2 separate regions of the Homo sapiens genome follow, and region 1 is linked to region 2. The links are contacts of gene promoters, found by promoter capture Hi-C in human tissues and cell types (Jung and others, 2019). All regions are on one chromosome and are shown on one strand. Each heading gives the region's core, a stretch centred on a gene start or on the middle of the fragment in contact. The rest is flanking DNA. Distances are from core to core; before and after follow the strand shown. Region 1 overlaps RNF187 (ring finger protein 187). Region 2 holds the start of PSEN2 (presenilin 2).

What was found. The method cuts DNA at HindIII sites, captures the fragments that hold promoters and counts their contacts. A contact is called where the count stands out against the background at its distance.
Region 1: a contact is called between a fragment that was not itself captured here and the fragment with the promoter of PSEN2 in region 2, in 1 of the 25 tissues and cell types used here (bladder).

Annotation. Positions count from the first base shown.
Region 1 is chr1:228,495,120-228,499,127 of GRCh38, reverse strand. It overlaps RNF187 (ring finger protein 187), which reads right to left. Exons shown (of 4, transcript NM_001010858.3): 4 at 2,940-4,008. Among named protein-coding and RNA genes, the nearest start is that of RNF187, 9.7 kb to the right of the region's middle. The HindIII fragment of the contact is 3,191 bases long and covers 136-3,326 here.
Region 2 is chr1:226,868,414-226,872,441 of GRCh38, reverse strand. PSEN2 (presenilin 2) reads right to left here and starts at 1,826. Exons shown (of 13, transcript NM_000447.3): 1 at 1,793-1,826; 2 at 1,038-1,180. LOC105373119 (a long non-coding RNA gene) reads left to right here and starts at 1,892. Exons shown (of 3, transcript XR_949226.4): 1 at 1,892-2,080. RefSeq lists silencers at 1,364-1,413, 1,424-2,023. The HindIII fragment of the contact is 9,487 bases long and covers 1-4,028 here.

The sequences.
Region 1 (4,008 bases), core at 482-2,981, 1.6 Mb before region 2:
CTAATTAGTCAGCAGCCACCAACATTGAGGCAAGACCCTCCCCCAGCAAAAAGATGGCAATTCACTGAACACTCAGATGATCATTAGCATTTTTTAGCAACAAAGTATTTTAAAATTAAGGTACATACATTGGCTTTTTTAGACATAATGCTACTGCATACTTAGTAGACTACATTACAGCCTATAAAAGCATTTTATATGCACTTGGAAACCAAACATTTCATGGGACTTGCTTTATTGCAGTATTTGCTGTATTGCAATGGTCTAGAAGCAAACCCATGGTTTCTCCAAGGTATGCCTTTTAGTTTGACCCCAGACTGCACTCCAAAGCAGCGGCCTTATTCTACACTCCTCACAGCACCTCTGGGCTCACCTAATGTGCCATCATCACTCAGACTTCAACATCACCTAGTGCTGCAGTTCCCACCACCCGCCCGAACCACCCCCGCCCCAACCCACCCCGAGCTAAAGCAGTATCTCATTATGGTTTTAATTATGATTCTCCAGTTACTAAATAGTTTAAGCATCTCCTTATATTTTGCTGCTGTCAACCTCATGAAATAATAGCTACTCAGTTAGGTAATGTAGAAGGTAAAATGGCCCCAAGCATTTTTATCTCCTCTCTTTGGCCACAGGATCCTGAAACTGAAAACGACCTTTGGGTCCCAACTATCCACGGCTTTCCCACAAAGCTCTGAAAATAAGAGTTGAGAAAAAAGTATTGAGCTACTGGACAAATACATCAGTGTCTTGAGAATGTGTCCCCTACCTTCCAGCAAACAAACTGTTGCTTTTCTATGCAGTGCCTGGCCTCAGTTTCCTTCCACATGTCACCCACAGCCAGCCTCGGAGATCCTCCTGCCTAGGGCTGCCCTTGACCAGAGAGATCTGGTTGCAGCAAAGCCACAGGGACACCAGTGGCTCCTCAGAGCTTGCGTGGTCAAGGGCTGAGGAAGGGCGTCTGTTTCAAGCCATTTCTATAAAACACCCTGTGGGAGCAGACCTGAAGGAGAGGGGCAACCGCCACACAGGTATGGGGGAGAAATGTTCCCTGGAGATCAGAGGCCGAGGCAGGGCCCACCTGGCTTGCTGAAGAACAGAGAGGCCATCATGCTGGGTCTGCAGGGAGCAGGGGGCACAGTGGTGACGAGAGAGGAAGAGCTCGGGGTGGATTATGTAGCACTTCCCAGGCCACTGCGAAGCTTTCCCGGAATGAATCTGAGTTGCTGCAGGGCCTTGAGTACAGCAGGGGCAGGCTCTTGCTTAGTTTTTATTTTCATTGTTTTAATAAATTTCATTGTGTATATTTAAGGTATGCAACGTGATGTTACAAAGTACAAACAGATAGCAAAATGGTCACTACAGGGGAGCAATTAACATTCCCATCACCTCCCAGAGTCAACCACTTTTAGGATTTTGTGGCAAGAGCAGCTGAAGTCTAGTCATTTAGCAGGAACTCCCAAAACAGTGCAATTTTATTACCTACATTCCTCCTGTTGTACATCGGATCACCAGACTGGTTCATCCTACATATTTTAAAGTAGAAACCCATCTACCTGCTGGGTTGAGAATGCATTGTTGGAGCAGCGGGAGGAGATGAGGTCCCCAGGTCTCCTGGGCAGAAGAGGACAGTGCCAGTGGGCCACGGTGGGGGACTGGCGGGGAGCAGGTAAGATGAGGTCAAGGTCTTTGGCTACAGGAAGAGCCTGCAGGATTCCTTTGCAGACCTATTGTGGACTGTTAGAGAAAACAACTCAGAGACAGCTCTGAGATGTCTGAGGACTGCAGGGATTGGGCCCCTGGGCAAGTCTGGGATGGAGGCAGTGGTTGGACCTGGAAGAGGGTTTGGGAGAGAGACCCACGTCAGAGAGGCAAGTGTGAGGTCACCATGGGGGGCTGGATAGGACAGAGAGGCCACACGAGGATGCCAAGGGTTCTTCCACATGAAGAGGGTGGAGTGGAGAGGACACAAGGGAGACGGAGGAGCATCAGCAAGGCCAGAGAAAGCCCTTGTGGAGGGAATGTCCCTACACAAAAATCCATTCAAAACAGACAAGGGCTTAATTGTAAGGCCTGAAACTGTAAAGCCAGTAGAAGAAAACACAGGTGAAAAACTCCATGACACTGGCCTAGGTTTCAGGGTTGTATCACTTCTTGCATATGACCCTAAAAGCACAAGCAACAAAAGAAAAATAAACATACATGATTGCATAGAGCTAAAAAGCTTCTGCACAGCAAAGGAAATCATAAACAGAGTGAAGACAACTCACAAATTGGGATAGAGTATTTGCAAACCATACATTAAGTAGGGGGTTAATATCCAAAATATACATGGAACTCAAACTCAATAGCAGGAAAGCAAATAAACGACTAAAAAATGAGCAAAGAACCTGAAGAGACACTTCTCAAAAGAAGACATACCAATGGCCAACAGGTATATAAAAAAATGCTCAACATCATTAATCATCAGGGAAACGTAAACCAAATCACAATGAGATTATCTCACACTTCTTAGAATGACTAATTTCAAAGAAAATAAATGTTGGTGAGTATGTAAATTATTATAGCCATTATGGAGAAGCATATGGAGGTTATTCAAAAACTTAAAAAGAGTACCGTGACCCAGCAATCCTACTGCTAAGTATTTTCCCAAAGGAAACGACATGAATATATGGAAGAGATACCCACACTCCTGTGTTTCTTAAGAGCACTTTTACAACAGTCAAGATACGGAATCAACCTACGTGGTCTAGAAGCAAAGTGATAAAGGGATAAAGTGGATAAATGGCTTAAGAAAATGTGGTGTATACACATCATGGAATACTATTTGGCCATAAAAAAGGAAACCCTGCCATTTGCAACATGGGTGAATTTACAGGACATTTATATTAAGTGAAATAAGCCAGGAACAGGACAAATATCACATGATCTCACTTATATGTGGAATCAAAATGTTGATTTATAGAATTAGAGAGTAGAACGGTGGTTAGCAGGGGCTGAGACAAGAGGATTTGGGGAAATTCTAGTCAGAGGGTACAGAGTCCCTGCTATACAAGAATAAACTCAAGGTCTATTGCACAGCATGGTGACTTCAGCTGATAACCGTGTACTGTACGCAGTTGGCCCTCTGTATCTGACTGTCCCACATATGTGCAGAGGGAGGGCTGACTGCAGGGTACTTGAGTATCTGCAGATTTTGGTATCCATGAGGGGGTCCTGGAACCAATCCCCCTTAGGCACAGAGGGATGACTGTATTTGAAATTGCTGAGTGTAGATTTCAAATATTCTCACCACCAAAAAAAACATGAGATGGATACATTAATCTGTCACTCCACAATGTACATAGATATCAAAACATCACACTGTGCCCCATAAATATATAATTTTCTTAAATAGAAAGAGGTTGTGATTGACAGGGTGGGATGTTGCTGGTCAGCTAGGTTAGGTGAGGATGGTGAAGCCACTGTCGGACCTGGTGATGTGGAGACACTGATGTTGTGGGAGACTCTGCCATCAGGACCTGTCCGGGCAAGCATCACAGGTGTGCAGGGCAGGGGCAGGGATGCTCAGGGATGACAGCAGACTGCAGCAGGCGGAGACAGTGAGAAAGACAAACTGGAGGTCTCAGGGTCGGGATGTTGTTGGCGTGCTGACAAAGATTCTCTACTTGGCCAAACTCTGGCCAGGCTCTGGAATCTTCTCCTAGGGCCCTCTTTGCCCTTTCTTATGAAATCCAGTTTTAGCAAGAACCCTAATTTGGTTAACCATAATATCTGACCACCCTCAATGGTACCTGACTGGGTTCCTCTCTGACCGTTTGCAGCCAATGTCTGATCGCCCTGCCTGCCTGCAGCAAGGACTCTGTGAGGTGGGTTTAGCCAGAGCCCCCTCAGCCCTGATGTCTCCTCACAGTCATTCCCACCCATGGACCCTATACTGCTCCTCGCTCCTCCAACCCCTGCCCTGCTACGTCGGGGTGGAGCCCCATCTCCCCCCAGGCCCCAAGG
Region 2 (4,028 bases), core at 577-3,076:
TGAAGCCACATAACTGGACTAGCTGCTTAACTCCCTGAACTTGTTTCCTCTTCTGTAAAAAGGTAATAATAAACTATTTCAGTGTCATTGAAATTCTTAAGATCTTAAATTCTAATATTCTGTACAAGATAGCTTTTTATTATGACCAACTCATAAGCGAGATATATGTCATTATTAACATCGATAACAGAGAAAGGCCAAAGTAGGCAAGAGGCAAACCCCCCTTGGGGGGACGGTGAGCAGCTACGGAGGGGAGACAGGTGTGACATTATGCACCACAGCTCCAGGCACCCCAGCAGCAGCCCCTAGCCCTTGCTCCTCCTCCTCCTTGCTGCTCTTTCAAATAGACAGGAACAAGCCACTCACTCCCCACATGTGAACATGCTGGACTCAAGACTTGGCACATGGGCACTTCAACACCAAAGGGTACAGAGTTTTCCCCAAAAACCTGATACATCCATCCCACTTCAAAGCAACATGCCCCCAAGCCCTCACTCCAGTCTCTGCCCTGGAACCCAAGGCTCAACGTGGGCGTCGTGAGGACGCAGCTCTGAGGTGGGGCCAAGAACCAGGCCCCTTCTGCACCTGCGCCAGTCACCGGCTGCCCACAACCACATTCAGGAGAGAAGAACCTGAGGCTCACACACCTGAAGCAGCTTATCCCGAGACTCCAATTACCGCCAAAGGTCTTGGCTGAAGGCCTTGGAGGCTCAGGTGTCTGCAGAATTGGCTACAGAGGCATCAGAGGCTTCCTTACTGGAAGCTGGGGTCGGTCCTAATCAAGTTACTTCGTAGACAGCCTTGGCAACCCCAGGCTGTCGCTTCTGAGTTAAGTTAGTCTACAATCGTCTCTATGGAATGCTCTCAGGTTCTCCATTTGTAAATAGGGATGCAGTTACTTCACTCAACACCGTTCATACCTTTCAAAGGGAATACTTATTAAGGCAATAAACAGGGGTGAGGTCTGCTCGGAGGGATGGACAGCAGATCTAGAAGCCAGGACACTGGGGTCGAAGCCTGGCTCTGCTATATCGTACCTGGGCGACCTTGGGAAAAGTCACTTTAGCTCTGTGGCCTCAGTTTCTTCATCAGTAAAATTCAGAGGGGGGACTAGCTTCTGTCTCAGGTTCCTTCAGCTCCAAAAGCTTGCTTCTGGCTGTCTCCTCACTGCTGGAAATGCCTGATAAAACAGCCAAACACCGCTGCTAACAGAAACCGGCTCTAGGCTTGAGCCTGCGGCCCTGCCCCTCACGTGCGGGCAGAGCCCCCGCGCGCCTCCTTCCCGGGGAAAGCATGCCCAGGACCCGGTGCTAGAGGCCGAATGGACTCGGCGCAACGGAGGTCTCCGGCGAGAGAGAAGAAGAACAAAACGCCCCCGCCTGCTACACGCCTCAGAGACCCACGTGCACCGCTCCTTTAAATGCACCGGCCCTTTAACCGCTCGCGCCGCGCCCACCCCCAGCCGGGGCTCGGCGGCAGGCGGGCGCAGGGAAGTGGGGACGCAGTGAGGCCGAAGGCCTGAGGGCCGCTCCCCGCGATCCTTCCACGACCCAGTTCCGGGCCGGCCCAGCCGCCGCCTGCCGGGCACTCTCCTCTCTCCGCCCCCGCGCTGGCCGCAGAGGCCAGGAGCGCTGCGCACGCAGGGGCCGCAGACCCACAGCCGGGGAAGGGACCGTGGCCAGAGGCGTGCGGAGGGCAGGGCAGGGCCCTCAGGGCGCAGCCCCACCCCGGGCCCTCAGCGCCGCAGGCGACAGGGCCCTGGCCTGGGCACCCCCCGGCACCGCCCGCTCACCTGCTCTGCCGCCGCGCTCCAGCGGAGTTTACGCAGCTGGCTGAGCGCCCGGCCGGACCCGGCGCCGGCCCAGGCCCCGCCCCACGCCCGCCCAGGCCACGCCCGGTGGGCGACGCCGCGTTCCCTCGTCCACTGGGGCCCCACCTGGAGTCCCGGGCGCGCGGGGAGGGTGGCCTTCACGCCGCGTGGATGACAGGGTCATCCCGACGTCGGAACTAAGCGACGACCTTAGAAGGAGTGGAGGCCGGGCCTGTCATCTTCCTGCGGGCCTGGCAGCAGCGTGGGGCGGTAGGACATAGGCTTCGAGGACACTCTTTCTTGTAGTTTTGGGTCCACATCCCCTCCTCCTCCCGGTTGTTCTCACATTAAAGGAGCACTAATGGCCCAATGTGAGCTAACACCATGAGAATGTTCCTGGTCTGTTCCCTAGGGCGCTTCAGAGCCACCAGGAGCTCTGCATAAAATTGAACAGGAATAAATTGCTGCCTGACCTGAGAATTGGCCTAGGGGGTTGTGGTTCCAGGATTTGGGGTCTGTGGGGTAGGTTGAGATTGTCAATAATTTGGCGTTGTCTGAGTAGTTTTACTTTTTTTTTTTTAACTTAAGGTGAAATTCACATAACATAAAATTTACCATTTTAAAGTGGGCATTTCAGTGGCATTTAGTGAATTCACAATGCTGTGCAACCACCACCTCTGTCTAGTTCCAAAACATTTTCCTCATTCCGAAAGAAAAACCCCATACCCATTGAGAAGTTTCTTCCCAATGCCCTCTTCCCCCCCAGCCCCTGGCAATTACCAGTCTACTTCTGTCTCTATATTTACTTACTTTAGATACTTCATATAAACGGAATCACAGTGTGTGGACTTTTGTGTCTTTCACTTAGCATGTTTTCGAGGTTCATCCTCAGGTAGCATGTAACAGACTTTATTCCTTTTTATGACTGAATAGTGTTTGTGTGTGTATATGTATATGTGTGTGCGTGTGTGTGTGTGTATCATGTATGCCACAGTTTATTCATCTATGGACATTGGGGCTGTTTGCATCTTTTGGCTTTGTGAATAATGCTACCATGAACATGCATGTACATGTATTTGTTTGAGAGCCCATTTTTATTTGGGGAGGGTACATACATAGGGGTTGAATTGTTGGATCGCATGGTAATTCAATTTTTTTTTTTTTTTGAGACAGAGCCTTGCTCTGTTGCCCAGCCTAGAGTGCAGTGGCCGCAATCTTGGCTCACTGCAACCTCTGCCTCCCAGGTTCGAGCAATTATCTTGCCTCGGCCTCCTGAGTAGCTGGAGTTACAGGTGTGTGCCACCACATCTGGCTAATTTTTGTATTTTTAGTAGAGATGGGGTTTCCCCATGTTGGCCAGGCTGGTCTTGATCCTGAACTCAAGTTATCTGCCTGCCTTGGCCTCCCACAGTGCTGGATTATAGGCATGAGCCACCGTGCCCAGCCTTCAGTGTTTAACTATTTGGGGAACCCCAAGTGGTTTCCACGATGGCTGAACCATTTTATATTCCTACCAGCAATGTACAGGATCCCAATTTCTCCACATCCTCACCAACACTTGTTATTTTCCATTTTATTGTTATCCTAGTAGGTGTGCAGCGGTACCTCATTCTGGTTTTGGTTTACATTTTCCTAATAACTAATGCTATTAAGCATTCTCCTTTTCATGTGTTTGTTGGCCATCTGTATATCTTCTTTGGAGACATGCCTATTCAAGTCCTTTGCCCATTTTAAAATTGGGTTGTCTTTTTGTTGTTGGGTTGTAAGAGTTCTTTATATATTCTGGACACTAGACCCTTATCAGATATATGCTTTGCAAATATTTCTCTCCCATTCTGTAATTGTCTTTTTCACTTTCTGATGTCCTTTCATGCACATAAAACTTTAATTTTGATGAACTTCAGCTTAACTGTTTTTTCTTTTGTTGTTTGTGCATTTGGTGTCCTGTGTGAGATATCATTGTCAAATCCAAGGTTGTGAAGATTTACTCCTGTGTTTTCTTCTAAGAGTTTTATAGTTTTAGCTCCTATATTTAGGTTGTTGATCCATTTTAAGATAATTTTTGTATGTAGTGTGAGGTTAGGGTCCAAGTTCATTGTTTTGCATGTGGACTTCTAGTTGTCCCAGCACCATTCGTTGAAGAGATTGTCCTTTTCCTATTGAATTGTCTTGGCTTCTTGTCAAAAATCAATTGGCCATAGATGGATGGGGAAAACCA